4 separate regions of the Homo sapiens genome follow, and all the other regions are linked to region 1. Evidence: promoter capture Hi-C in human tissues and cell types (Jung and others, 2019). All regions are on one chromosome and are shown on one strand. The core of a region is centred on a gene start or on the middle of the fragment in contact, and the rest is flanking DNA. Distances in the headings are between cores, read along the strand shown.

Region 1 (3,555 bases), core at 99-2,598:
TAAAGTGATTATGGTACTACACCAAGTTTTAGACTGTAAACTCCTAGAAATTATCATTTCAAGTGTGTATTAAATTTCAAGCAAATTTTAAACCGGTTTAAGATTCAGCCTTAAAGAACAGTTAAAATTGATTGAAAATAATCCAATTTCACCGCACTTTATACATCATAGTTGAAATGCAATGAAGACACATTATTACACAATAATGAAGAAGCAAAGATTTGGCCTGTTATCTGGGAAATTAGAGGGTGGACTACCTGGGCTCCTTTTAGCAAAACACTTTTCCAAAAGAAACTTATTTTTGTTTTCTTTAAACAATACTGTCCTGTCCTAAACGAAATCATTTTTAGTCTGTTGAAAATCCACGTGTCTTTGCGTGTTTATTTATTTATTTATTTATTTATTTATTTATTGCAGTGTTCAAAAAAAAAAAAAAAAAGATGCAAGGTTTCCAGCCCTGAGGACCAGGACGCTGTAGCTCCTGTCTCAGTTCAGCCCTAGCTCTAATTGTGACCTTGGGAAATGTCCCTGGCTCGGGGGACTCGGTTTCCCTCTCTTCTCAATTATGAGTGCTCGGAACGTGGGGGTGGGACGGGCCCCCAGCACCGCAGACAAGGGGTTACAGCTCGTCCAGCTTCATGCAAATCCCCAGCCCTCCTCGTCGCCTCGGCTCTTCCCATCCACTCAGCCACTAGCTCGCTCGGAGCAGTGTGCTCCCGGTGCCCCCCGCGGGGTACCCTCGGTTCTGCACGGCGCTCCCCCTTTGTGTCTTGCTGCTAGGAAGGGACCTTGCGATCATCCTTCCATCCGCCGAGAAACGCTCCACCTACCCTTCATTCTCGACCGTGTCTTTCCCGTTTCAGAGAACCCCTCACACTGCTGCCCTCGAGAGACCCCCGCCGTGGCTCTGACCGGGAATCCCTCTCCTTCCCTCCCCTCAGGAGACCTTCCCTTCACACAGCCTTCACCTCCGGAAGAGCCCTCAATTCACACAACCCCATTCTTCCTCAAACTCTCAGGGATTGGCACCCGGCTGCCTTTTGCGGAGCCGCAAAGGACCCTCAGCCTCCCCCACCTCCGTCATCGGGTTCTGGGGACCCCTCTCACCTCCGCGGTGAGAGATGTGTTTACTGAGGAATCGCTGCTTCTTTCTCTGGTGCAGCAAGGTCGGGTATTTAAGCAACAAGAATGAGGTCACCAAGTATCCTCCTAGCGTAGAGAGAAGGTAAAAAGCCGCAGTGGACGACATCTCAGTCACCGTGTGGGAAGTCTCCCACCTCCGGGCCCTCTGAACTCCGCTGCGGCAGTAGCAACGACGGCGGCGGCGGCGGCTGCTCGAGGTCGGCTCGCCCCCAGCCGGTGCCACTGGTGCAGCGCACTTGTCGGTGCCGGCCTACTGCGCACGCGCAGCTGGACCCCAGCGCCCCAGCAACAAAGAGGCTCCGACGCGCAGGCGCTCTCCGGCTCCCGTGTAGGAACCTGCAGAGATCCTGGACTGAGCGTTTGTCACCTAGCTCTGTGGACGGACCCTCATGAAGAGAAAGCTTGCAAACCTGCCAGTGTGTTGGCCATCACTCAAGCAGAAAAGACTATTCACGGGCAGCCTTTCCTAATTGGAAAATCCACATCAAAAAGGAAAGATTCCAGGGCGCGTCTTATCCCTTGCTCTAGAAAATGCAAATAATTTGTACCTATGGAGGCGATAAAGCTTGCTAAAACACTAAATAAACTCCTCCGTTTATCTAGCCTAGAGAGAATTTCCCCTATGGTCGCATATACTAGAAAAGGTACTGGTTTATCAGTCAAATATCTGAGAGATCGGCCCCTGTCCTCCCTCATTTCATTGTGAAAGTGCAATCCTCATTCTTTGTACACAATAGGCACTGTAGAAGTATTTGTTGACTTACAAGTCCGTATAAAATAAGGAAACTTTGTTAAGGTTATAAGGTATTACCTAAAAGTCCTAGAAAGACAGATAACTAAGTTCCAGAAGGCCCTACTAGTTTTCCTTTTACCCGACAAATTACAAACTGCTAACACACGAAAAGCCACACACTTCAATGCAAAAGAAATAAATCACCCAGGACTGAGGGAGAAATTTTACGGAGAAGACCATATCTCCCACAGGACTAGAAAAGCAGAGTGAATATTTAAAATCCTGATTCAGCCGGGCGCGGTGGCCCACGCCTGTAATCCCAGCACTTAGGGAGGCCGGGAAGGAAGGGTGGATCGCTTGAGCCCGGGAGTTCGAGACCAGCCTGGGCAACATGGCGAAACCCCATCTCTACAAAAAATAAAACAAAATAAGCCCGGCGTGGTGGCGTGCACCTGTAGTCACGCTACTTGGGAGGCTGAAGTGGGAGTATTGCTTGAGCCTGGAAAATCGAGGCTGCAGTGAGCTATGACTGCACCACTGCACCCCAGCCTGGGCGACAGAGCAAGACCCTATCTCAACTATAAAAAGAAAATTAGAAGAAAATAGGGGGTGGCTGGGCACGGTGGCTCAAGCCTGTAATCCCAGCACTTTGGGAGGCTGAGGCGGGCAGATCATTTGAAGTCAGGAGCCTGGCCAACATGGCGAAATTCCATCTCTACTAAAAATACAAAAATTTGCCAGGGGTGGTGGCGTGTGCCTGTGATCCCAGCTACTCAGGAGGCCGAGGCAGGAGAATCTCTTGGACCCGGGAGGCAGAGGTTGCAATGAGCCGAGAAGGCGCCACTGCACTCCAGCCTGGGTGACAGAGCGAGACTCCGTCTCAAAAAAAAAAAAAAAAAAAAAAAAAAAAAAAAAAAAAAAAATTCCTTTAGTCGAGGTTGAAGTGAGCCTTGATGGTGCCACTGCACTCCAGCCTGGGCAACAGAGCAACATTCTGAGGAAACTTACAGGTTAAAAAATCATGTGTTCTGTTTAGGGCTGTTAAACTATTTCCTGTAGATCAACTGACGCACATAGTTCTATTTTTCAAAATATCACCTGATGACTATGGAAGCGTCTAGAATAAACCACTGTGGCATAAAAATTATTTTGAGGCTGGGCATGGTGGCTCACGCCTGTAATCCCAGCACTTTGGGAGGCTGAGACAGGCAGATCACCTGAGGTCGGGAGTTCGAGACTAGCCTGGCCATCATGGTGAAACCCCGTATCTACTAAAAATACAAAAATAAGCCAGGCATAGTGGTGCATGCCTGTAGTCCCAGCTACTAGGGAGGCTGAGGCAGGAGAATGGCTTGAACCTGGGAGGCGGAGCTTGCAGTGAGCCAAGATCATGCCACGGCACCCCAGCCTGGGCGACAGAGCAAGACTCTGTCTCTTAAAAAATATATATATATTGAGCTGAAGGCATTTAAGTTCCTGGAATCCCTTATCAACCTAAAATCAAAGGCTCCCAGAAGAACTTAACTGTCATAAATCTCCTCCCTGGGAACAATTCTAATCCTGTCAGAGATGAGAGACATTGTCACAAAAGTATGACATCTCATGGGTATTCTCCTAAGGACACATTTATGTTTCCAAAAAATCATTTCTTTTTCCAAAAAGTGCTTTCTCCCCAGCTT
Region 2 (3,244 bases), core at 670-3,169, 150 kb before region 1:
TTCTAAACACTCATCTTAGTAAACATTCATCCTGCTCTTTACCCTCATAACATCTGGAACAATCACTTACAGTGAAACAATGACTGTGTTTCACTACATTTTATCACTGTTTATCTATTTGCCTTCCCCATTAGATCATAAGCTACTTAAGGGCAAGAATTCCAGGCAAGTGCACGGTTCACGCCTGCAATCCCAGCACTTTGGCAGGCCAAGGCGGGCTGATCACTTGAGCCCAGGAATTTTAGACCACCCTGGGCAATATGGAGAAACCTCATCTCTACAAAAAATAGAAAAATTAGCCGGACATGGTGGCGCATGTCTGTAGTCCCAGCTACTCAGGAGACTAAGGTGAAAAGATCATCTGAGCCTGGGAAGTTGTGGCTGCAGTGAGTTGTGATCATGCCTCTGTACTCTAGCCTGGGCAACAGAGTGAGACTCTGTCTCAAAAAAAAAAGAGAATTTCATCCATTTCTGTATTTGTATCCATTTCTGTATCCCCAGTGCTTCATACAGTAGGATTTAATATATGCAGGGTGATGAGGGAGGTTAAGTGACTTGCTCAATGCCACACTGAAAATTTAGCACAAAGCCAGGTCTGGAGCAGAGGTGGCTTGACCCTCATTCAAGGCTTTTCAAATGGTGCCACAGACTCTCCTCAGCAGGGCCCCACACTGTCTTCCCATTACAGTGATGACACTGTAGGAAACTATGTGCCCTATCTGGCTTGATCACCTTGTAACCTATGGTGGGAACCTGTGGGTGCTAGACGGCTGGGGCTGAAGTCTGGCCTATGGAATAGAATTCTCACCAGGGTGTCAATTAAGACCTTGTCAATTAGCACAGTGCCTCAACCCCTACACTCTTCATACAAGCCACCATGCTGGTTTGAGATTCCTCTTGAAATCACAGAAACCTATTTCTCCAACACCCATTTCACAACAGTCATTCTAATCATCTTACCTAGGGTTAAGTAAACCAGTCCAAGGGCCTAATTGGGCCTTTCACCTGTTTTGCAAATAAAGTTTTTCTGGAAAACATCCATGCTCATTTGTTTATATATTCTCTGTGGCTGCAGATTTGAGTGGAGACCCTATGTCCAGCAAAGCGTAAAATACTATCTGGCCTTTATAGAAAAAGTTTTGCAGACCTTTGGATCTAGCCCAAAAAACAGGGAATCAAGACTGCAAACAGCCCCTCCCTTCTACCAAGGGACTGGCTGCCCCTACTCTGGAAGTTAGTGAACCAACTGGCTTTTGAATGAAGTCATTTCTTTTTTTAGCCCTGGTTACAGGCCTGGGATCCAGGAGGAGATTTTGCCTGTCAGAGGCACACAGGGACCTGCAACACCTAGCACATGGCCTGGCACATAATGGCACTCAATTAATGTTTACTGAATAAATAAACAAAGACATGAGAAATCAGCCAGGCTGAGCCTCGAACAAAAGTCCATACTCCTCCTGTCAGTTTCAAGGTGGCCAGTCACACAGGTACCTGGCAGCAGCCGGGTGACCTAGATTTGTCAGACCTTATCTTATTGGCTTTCCTTTCTCGTGTATTTACCCAGCACCTGCCCCCACGATGCTCAGAGCAGGTTGGCCTCTTGTTTTTATAGAGAAAGAGATGGACAGGGAGGAACTCTCCTCCCACACAGACACACTTTGTGTTTTTTCTTTTTTTCTCCCGCTGCGGGAAGAATCAAGAAATATGGGGGCTTCGAGCTTCAAAAAGCTCCATGAAGTCTAGTTTCACTGGCTTCCTCTCTCCTCAGGCTTCCTAGGTGAATGTTTCTGGCATGAACCTTAACGGCCCTCTCAGAGTTGTACCTGTCGTTTGGAACATTTGGCATCTGAAGGGGAAAGGCCAGCTGTGGATAAAGCTGGCAGCTTTCAGAAGGTCAGGAATGTAAACAAAGCAGCCCCCACCCAGTGGGGAGAGGCCTGGTCCTGAGAATACAGACATTCCTCCAAAGATGCATCAGAGAACAAGGGGCTGCCCGACTCGGCTGGGCTAGCTCAGGCCGACTCTGCAGGGGAGGACAGGGACCATCAGGGAAACAAAAGGCACTTCAGCCTCTCATGAAAATTAGGCAAACTGAATGGAAAGCACTATGGAAATGCTGGTTTTTCAGCTGCCCCGGATAACCTTAGGGGCCAGGCTCAGGAAGGAGATCCTTGTTGCTGCTGCCACCAACCGCTTTTTCAGGTGCTGGGTCTTCCAGGAACCAAAGGGTACCGTGTGACAGGCTCAGTGAAGGCAAAGCTTGCATCTGTTTGCCACTGTAATTCCCAGGGTCTAACACGTAAGAGGAGCTCACACAATGTGGAATAAATGACAGGGCCCTCTGCAGGAGGGTTTGCTCAGGGATTTTTTGTTTTGGTGAGGAAACACTTTTCTGTTTCCTCATTTATCTGCTGGGACGCTAAGGTCACAGTTAGCTTCCCAACAGATAAATGAGGAAACAGAAAATTGCTCTTGGTGGAGCCAACCCTAACAAGAAGGAAAAGGAGCTCCTGGGCCCCCAAAGATAGAGAATTTTCCTTTTGATGATCATAATTTACCCCTTCAAAGACCCAAAGGTGTCAGGGGCTAAAGGGGAGGGGAGAACTAGTGCCACCTGCTCCACCTCTTGACATCACTGTAGTCTGGAGGGGAGGGAGTTTATGGACTGATTAGATGTTGTTGTTTCTAGCGGCAGCTGGCAGAGCCATCTCCTCCTCTCTTCCTCTCCCCCTCCTCCTCCAACTCACTGTCCAGCCACCAGCAATAAGCCAGGGAGAGGAGGGAAACAGCTAAAGCTCCCCTTGGCTGGGCAGCCCTTACCCCAGAGATAATACTCTGGGTCACCAGGTCAAACCCTCCTCTCAGCAGCTTTGCTGAGTGCTTTGGAAACAAAGGTTATCAGAGATTCTCTTTTGGTTTTGTTCTTTCAAGATAAAGAAAGTGGTTTCTTTCAAAAGATTCCCCCCCACCCGAAGTGTCACAGAAGGAATCAAACTGACAAGCAACTCTCAGCTCCAGCTTCACTCTCCAGGCCAGGGACTTCTCTTCCAGCCGCCTGGGCTGCTGTGTCACAGCCAACTGAGGTCCTCGGGTGGGTCAGAGGCACAGTAACCACCTGACAGACTAAAAGGGAAGGAGGCAGGGACAGGCTTTTCCATTTACATTCTAGAGAGGCTTCGCTGCTGCCTGCAGGTAAGGCCCCAGAAAGCTGTGGTGGAAGGTGCTGCTGCTATTTCATCACCTC
Region 3 (3,105 bases), core at 581-3,080, 210 kb before region 1:
TTCCTTCTATCATAAACAGTTATTAGTTGTGGCCCTTTCTCCCTTCCAAATAGGTGCCCAAATTTCTGGAAGTGGAAAGGGCCCAACTTTCCCATATCAGGGGGTGGGCCCCACTGGGCGTGAGCCAATCAGTGTCTTCTGTCCTGTGAGCTCCCGATTTATGCTGGTCTATAACCTGAGATGGCCTTCTCAGGATGGACCTCCAGGGATTGCTGGAACTTGGACTCTTGTCAGCCTGGTAAATGGTATGTCTTAGATCTGCTGCAGCCGTCGTGGAAAACTTGAAGCTGCCAGGAGAGAGGGGTTCCAACATGTGGTGGCTAAAGAATGAATCCAACTCAAAGGAAGCAGAGCCAAGAAATGGATCCATGCTGTTTGAATCTTGGATCAAATTGTGCCTGGATCTCCAGTGAGACAATAAATTCCTGTATTACTCAAGCCTATTTGAGATTGTTTTCTTTCACTTGAAACATTAAACTTTTAAATTGATACACCCTAGTTAAATTATAAACTGTGTGACAGCAGGGACTGTGTCTCTCTCTTTTTTTTCTTTCTTTTTTTTTTGTTTTGAAACAGAGTTTCACTACCGTCACCCAGGCTGGAGTGCAGTGGTGTGATCTTGGCTTACTGCAACCTCCGCCTCCTGGGTTCAAGTGATTCTTGTGCCTCGGCCTCCCAAGTAGCTGGGACCACAGGTGTCTGCCACCATGCCTGGCTAATTTTTTGTATTTTTGGTAGAGATGGGGTTTCACCATGTTGGCTAGGCTGGTCTCAAACTCCTGACCTCAAATGACCAACCAACTTGGCCTCCCAACATGCTGGGATTACAGGCGTGAGCCATTGCGCCCGGCCCAAGACTGTTTCTCTTGATCACTTATGTGTCCCCTGGCACGTGGTAAGGATTCAATAAATAACTTTTGAATGGATGCATTTTAGCTGCAAGGAACACCCATAAACTCTCTTTTACTCAGCTGACAGCTAAGGAATCTGGTGTTATATAAGAAAGTGATGATGTGGATCTATAAGTTGGACCTTACCCCAACACTGGGATTTTTCTAATCACAGGAAATCTTCCAGTAAATATGTTGGGGTCTTTGAGGAGGCCCCAAAATAGCAGTCTGCTCCCTTCTCTGTGAATTTTGAATTGAATCAGAAGATAGCAGCAAGCTAGATGAGGACCAAAAATAACCTTTTCTACTGATAAAGCTGATATTAGAGAACGTGGCTTATATCATCAGACAATCGAGCTTCCCGATACTCAACTTCAGAGTTAGGCAGACTTGGCGGCTCGATGACAGGCAGCTGAGCTGGAATGGGCCTACTCTTCCCACCCCACGGGAGCGAAGCTTGCTCCCAAGAAGAAAAGAGAGGATGATATAAGGCACAGTTCCTCCTTCCAAACTCACCAGTCATATTAAACCACTCCTCCTTCTCAGGGAAGAGGGGGCGGGTGGAGAGAAGCAAGGAGTGTTTGGACTCCTTTCAGAAGAAAGAAAACATCAGGAGTGGAAAGACCCAGTCTCCCTCACACACACACGTGTGATTTGGTCAGGTCATTGATTCTACTTTGTTTTCAATCAAAATGGGTGATATTTCCAAGTGGTGGGATACGTTTGCTGTCTAAAATATAGAATAGCTCACATAGAATAGCTCCATAGAATAACTCACACATCACAATATCAAGCTCCCCAAGGAGTTAGAGATCTTCATTTAAAATTATGCAAAATTCAAAAGAAGAAACAAGAATTCACGACGAAATTACACAATCAGGGGCACTAGGTGGCAATAAGCCTTTTGCTCTCTCACCATGCCCATCAAAGGCATTTCAAGAGCACTGAAAGCTCACACTCTTCCCACGCCGACTGTCAGTTTCTTTCTGGATGATCTCAGAGCCACACAGAGCATTCTTAGTCACTGGGAGAACAGAACCAAAGCTTAACTCCTTGGTGGCACCAGGGGAAATGGCACTTCAAGTTGGATTCCAGGAAATCCAGGGAAACACTTGACATAGGAAGTCTGCGACCACATTCCCAGTTTCCCCAGTGTCAAGGCTGGGGCCATGAGCATTGTTCAAAATACTCAGGCCTGCATTGTGTCTGTCTGCCACATGCTTTTGGTTTTACTCACCAGGGCACTTTTTCCTGTTTCTGTTTTTTGGAATTTTTTGGTTTTGCTTTTTAAGGTAAACATGTACCATCTAGGCTTCAAGAAACTTCCTTGAATAAACATCGTTTGTCGATTTGAAGTTTGATACACAAACTACCAGCTGAATTGGACAATCATAACCCCCCAAATGAGCCAAAATACATTTAAAATTCAACATGGATTTTCCTAAAACTGGTATTGGCTGTTTAATGTGACTGAGCCCGGTGAGAAACAGGATGCCCTGAACTCAGCAGAGATCCCCTCTGTTCTTGCTGCCAAGATAAAGTTTTGCTCTAATCTTTTTTTTTTTTTTTTTGATACGGAGTCTTGCTCTGTTGCCCAGGCTGGAGTGCAGTGGCACGATCTCAGCTCACTGCAACATCCGCCTCCCGGGTTCATGCCATTCTCCTGCCTCAGCCTCCCGAGCAGCTGGGACTACAGGCGCCCACCACCACGCCCAGCTAATTTTTTGTATTTTTAGTAGAGACGGGGTTTCTCCATGTTAGCCAGGATGGTCTCGATCTCCTGACCTCGTGATCCACCCGCCTCAGCCTCCCAAAGTCCTGGGATTACAGGCGTGAGCCACCACGCCCAGCCTGCTCTAATCTTAAGTAGCTTGCTGGTGGACTATTTGCTGGAGGTCACTAAGTAGACTTTGCTGGCCAGTCTTGGGAGAGAACCCAGGCTGACAAAGGAAACCTCGAACACAGCAAGATTGAGACAATATGTTCCCATCCTCTCTTCTCAAATGTAAAGCTATTTTCTCATCTATTACCTGCCCCTATTTTTACCATGAGAAGCTCTCCAATGCCACTTTAGCTATCGATAATTGGCAGTGAGTTTTGCAATTAACAGCTGCCCAGAATCAATTCCAAGGATGCGCAACTGAAACCACTTTTAAAAAGGCAGAGTTGGGGATTACTCAGCTGCCTACCTGACCTCCAATCCTTTTTCTTACCC
Region 4 (3,511 bases), core at 1,003-3,502, 130 kb before region 1:
CGAAAGATACATAAACTTTTGGATCCAGAACCCCTTCATCACACCCTGGGCACACTCTGGGTAGCAGGTAAGGTGAATGACAAAACAGCCCACAGAAGACCAATGCTGTTGGGTGCCAGAGTGTTACAGATAGAAAGGGTGGTAGAGCCAAGTACCCTGCTTGGAGTTTCCTGAAATACCCTCAACCTTTCTTTTTCTTTCTTTTTTAAGACAGAGTCTCACACTCTGTCTTCCAGGCTGGAGTACAGTGGCATGATCTCGGCTCACGGCAACCTCCGCCTCCCGGGTTCAAGCAATCCTCCTGCCTTAGCCTCCCATGTACCTAGAATTACAGGCGCCCGCCACCACGCCTGGCTAATTTTTGTATTTTTAGTAGAGACAGGGTTTCACCATGTTGGCCAGACTGGTCTTGAACTCCTGACATCAGGTGATCAACCCACCTCAGCCTCCCAAAGTGCTGGCATTACAGGTGTGAACCACCGCACCTGGCCCTTCCACCTTTCTAATACTCCTGTTCCATTTCAGGATAGACAGCACATCCAGGAAAGGAAGGGGTGGTGAGTTAGAGTAAGGAAATAGGAAAGACAGGCAGGGGAAAACAAGCAGTAGGCTTCCCCCAGGCCAAATGCTGCTAGAGTCCACAGCCTTAGCTGCCCGCTGGGGAGCACAAAGAGCACCAGACCCATCCGTCTTACACAAACACAGAGGGGAGAAAAAGAAACAATGACCCTGGCTGCCAGGCTGAGTTTAGAGAGCAGATACAGAGTCTGTTTTCTTATACATGCAGACAGCTTCTAAATTATACATTTCCCCAGAGTAGAATTATTTCTTCTCTCACTTCTCCTCTGAAGGAAACCCCCAAAAAAAGTTTACAGGTAGAAGTTTCTGGTTATGTTCAGCTTCAAATCTGAATCCCGAAACTTATTCAAAGCTACCTTCTGTGAAATAAGCATTTCTTGTTTGTATTAAATGTGAGTGTGTCACATACAAACACACACATGCACATTCCATCCTCACCACAGCTCTGAACCTAAAAAGACAAGAGAAAAATCTACCATATAAGCAATGGCCCAGGCTGTCTGGTGCTAGAAAGGCTCTGGAAGGCCTAGACAAGAAGCCTTACATTTTGCTGTGGCAGGGTCACTCTGCTCCCCATTGCTCTTAAATATGAATAAACAGGCATCCTAGAGAGGGACTCCTTTCCTAAGAAGAAAAAAGGAAAAGCCAGATGCGGTGGCTCACACCTATAATCCTAGCACTTTGAAACAGGAGGATTGCTTGAGCCCAAGAGTTCGAGACCAGCTTGGACAACACGGCAAGACCTCAACTCTACAAAAAATTCAAACTTAGCCAGGCATGGTGGCACGCGCCTGTGATCCCAGCTACTTGAGAGGCTGAGGCCAGAGGATTACTTGAGCCCAGGAGGTTGAGACTGCAGTGCACAGTGTTCACTCCAACTGCATTCCAGCCTGGGTGACAGAGCATTAAAAAAAAAGAAAAGAAAAAGGGAAGAAAAAGCGGCTTGCTGAAATATGAATCTTGTTCAACTGGTACAGGACAAACTAGAAGAAATGAGAGGAGGTAAGTAGAAAGCAAGGAGAAGCAGGATCAAGAAAGGCCTGTAGGGCCAGGCACAGTGGCTCATGCCCGTAATCCCAGCACTTTGGGAGGCTGAGGCGGGCGGATCACGAGGTCAAGAGATTGAGACCATCCTGGCCAATATGGTGAAACCCCGTCTCTACCAAAAATACAAAAATTAGCCGGGCATGGTGGCGTGTGCCTGTAGTCCCAGCTACTCAGGAGACTGAGGCAGGAGAATCGCCTGAACCTGCGAGGTGGAGGTTGCAGTGAGCCGAGATCGTGCCACTGCACTCCAGTCTGGTGACAGTGCGAGATTCTGTCTCAAAACAAAACAAAACAAAACAAAAGGCCAGCCTGTGGGGGCCGGGGAAGGTGGTCACGCCTGTAATCCAGACACTTTGGGAGGCCAAGGCAGATCACTTGAGGTCAGGAGTTTGAGACCAGCCTGGCCAACATGGTGAAACCCTGTTTCCACTAAAAATACAAAAATTAGCCAGGCATGGTAGCGCACGCCCGTAGTCCCAGCTGTAGTCCCAGCTACTCGAGAGGCTGAGGCAGGTGAATCACTTGAGCCTGGGAGGCGGAGGTTGCAGCCTGGACGACAGAGCGAGACTCCGTCTCAACAAAAAAAAAAAAAAAAAAAAGAAAAAAAAGGCCTGTGGGCTGAGAAAGGGGAGGGCAGGCTGCATGAGAGGAACAAGCTGAGAGATGGGGACCAAAAAATCAACATCTGCACTGTCTTCTTCCCTTTTAAGCAAAAATTTTAAAAGCTTCTTTGAGTCAATTCTTAGGAAAGAAAATTGATTTTTTTTTTTTTTTTTTTTTTTTTGAGACGGAGTCTCGCTCTGTCACCCAGGCTGGAGTGCAGTGGCGCCATCTCGGCTCACTGCAAGCTCTGCCTCCCGGGTTCACGCCATTCTCCTGCCTCAGCCTCCCGAGTAGCTGGGACTACAGGCGCCCGCCACTACGCCCGGCTAACTTTTTGTATTTTTAGTAGAGACGGGGTTTCACCGTGGTCTCGATCTCCTGACCTCATGATCCGCCCACCTCGGCCTCCCAAAGTGCTGGGATTACAGGCGTGAGCCACTGCGCCCAGCCAAAATTGATTTTTTTTTAAAGGAAGAAATTAAGAGTATGGAGCTTAACTCATCATTCTAATTTTTGAACTTTAGCCCCTGTTAATGGGGCAACAGGGTCCATGGGGCTTCATGAGTCCAACTCATAGAACATAACTGTGGAGTTCCAAATTGATTTCCAACAGTCATCAAATGAGCTTAATATTTAAAAGCCTCAGGGCACATGTGCAAATTAAACACCATTTTAAGTGAACTAATAATCCATCACAGTGGAAATTAAAGGAAGATTTGCCGCCACCCCTAGCTAGCTTTCACTGAGCAGCACAGAAAGAAAATATGTGAGATATTATGATTAAAAACAAAGATCTTCGATACACCACCTCGAGAGACAAATGCACAGGGAGCACATGCCAACCTGGCCAGCCCCCACCCCATGCCGCCTCCCCGGCCAACAGGCCTTCCCCAAAAGGGAGTAACTGCCGCTGGAACTCAAAACAGAACCTTCTGAGTGCCACCAGGATGGAGGGGCGGGAGATGGGACGCTCTTGTTAAGCCACAAAGGAACGTGAGGAATGATGTGGAAGCAAGGCTGGACCACCACATGCCGAGCCACGGAAACTGACCTGAGAAGTGGGACTCTCTACAGGAAGGAATTCCTCCAGACATGAGACAAGGCTGGCCCCAAGGCATGCCTCTGTGTTGTTGTTTCCATGGGGTGTCTGAGAGGAGGTGAAGACTGGAAAAGAAGTGGGCTCTGGACTCACACAAACCAGTTCTGCTCCTTTCTAGCTGCGTGACTTCTGGCAAGTTACGAAACCACTCTGACCCTCAGCTTCCCTATCTCTAATAAGACC

What was found. The method cuts DNA at HindIII sites, captures the fragments that hold promoters and counts their contacts. A contact is called where the count stands out against the background at its distance.
Region 2: a fragment that was not itself captured here is called in contact with the fragment with the promoter of GDPD1 in region 1 in 1 of the 25 tissues and cell types used here (hippocampus).
Region 3: a contact is called between a fragment that was not itself captured here and the fragment with the promoter of GDPD1 in region 1, in 4 of the 25 tissues and cell types used here (bladder, dorsolateral prefrontal cortex, lymphoblastoid cells and 1 more).
Region 4: a fragment that was not itself captured here is called in contact with the fragment with the promoter of GDPD1 in region 1 in 1 of the 25 tissues and cell types used here (small bowel).

What each region holds. Positions count from the first base shown.
Region 1 is chr17:59,218,304-59,221,858 of GRCh38, reverse strand. It overlaps GDPD1 (glycerophosphodiester phosphodiesterase domain containing 1), which reads right to left and starts at 1,348. Exons shown (of 10, transcript NM_182569.4): 1 at 1,108-1,348. The coding sequence starts at 1,249. RefSeq lists an enhancer at 772-1,322. The HindIII fragment of the contact is 11,394 bases long and covers 1-3,555 here.
Region 2 is chr17:59,365,302-59,368,545 of GRCh38, reverse strand. The region is part of intron 2 of YPEL2 (yippee like 2); the gene reads right to left. MIR4729 (microRNA 4729) reads right to left here and starts at 2,463; the gene lies at 2,392-2,463. RefSeq lists a silencer at 504-798 and enhancers at 1,355-2,124, 2,125-2,894. The HindIII fragment of the contact is 4,265 bases long and covers 1-3,244 here.
Region 3 is chr17:59,426,474-59,429,578 of GRCh38, reverse strand. No RefSeq gene overlaps it. Among named protein-coding and RNA genes, the nearest start is that of MIR4729, 62 kb to the right of the region's middle. RefSeq lists a silencer at 1,736-1,865. The HindIII fragment of the contact is 4,924 bases long and covers 1-3,105 here.
Region 4 is chr17:59,348,073-59,351,583 of GRCh38, reverse strand. The region is part of intron 1 of YPEL2 (yippee like 2); the gene reads right to left. Among named protein-coding and RNA genes, the nearest start is that of MIR4729, 16 kb to the left of the region's middle. The HindIII fragment of the contact is 6,533 bases long and covers 1-3,511 here.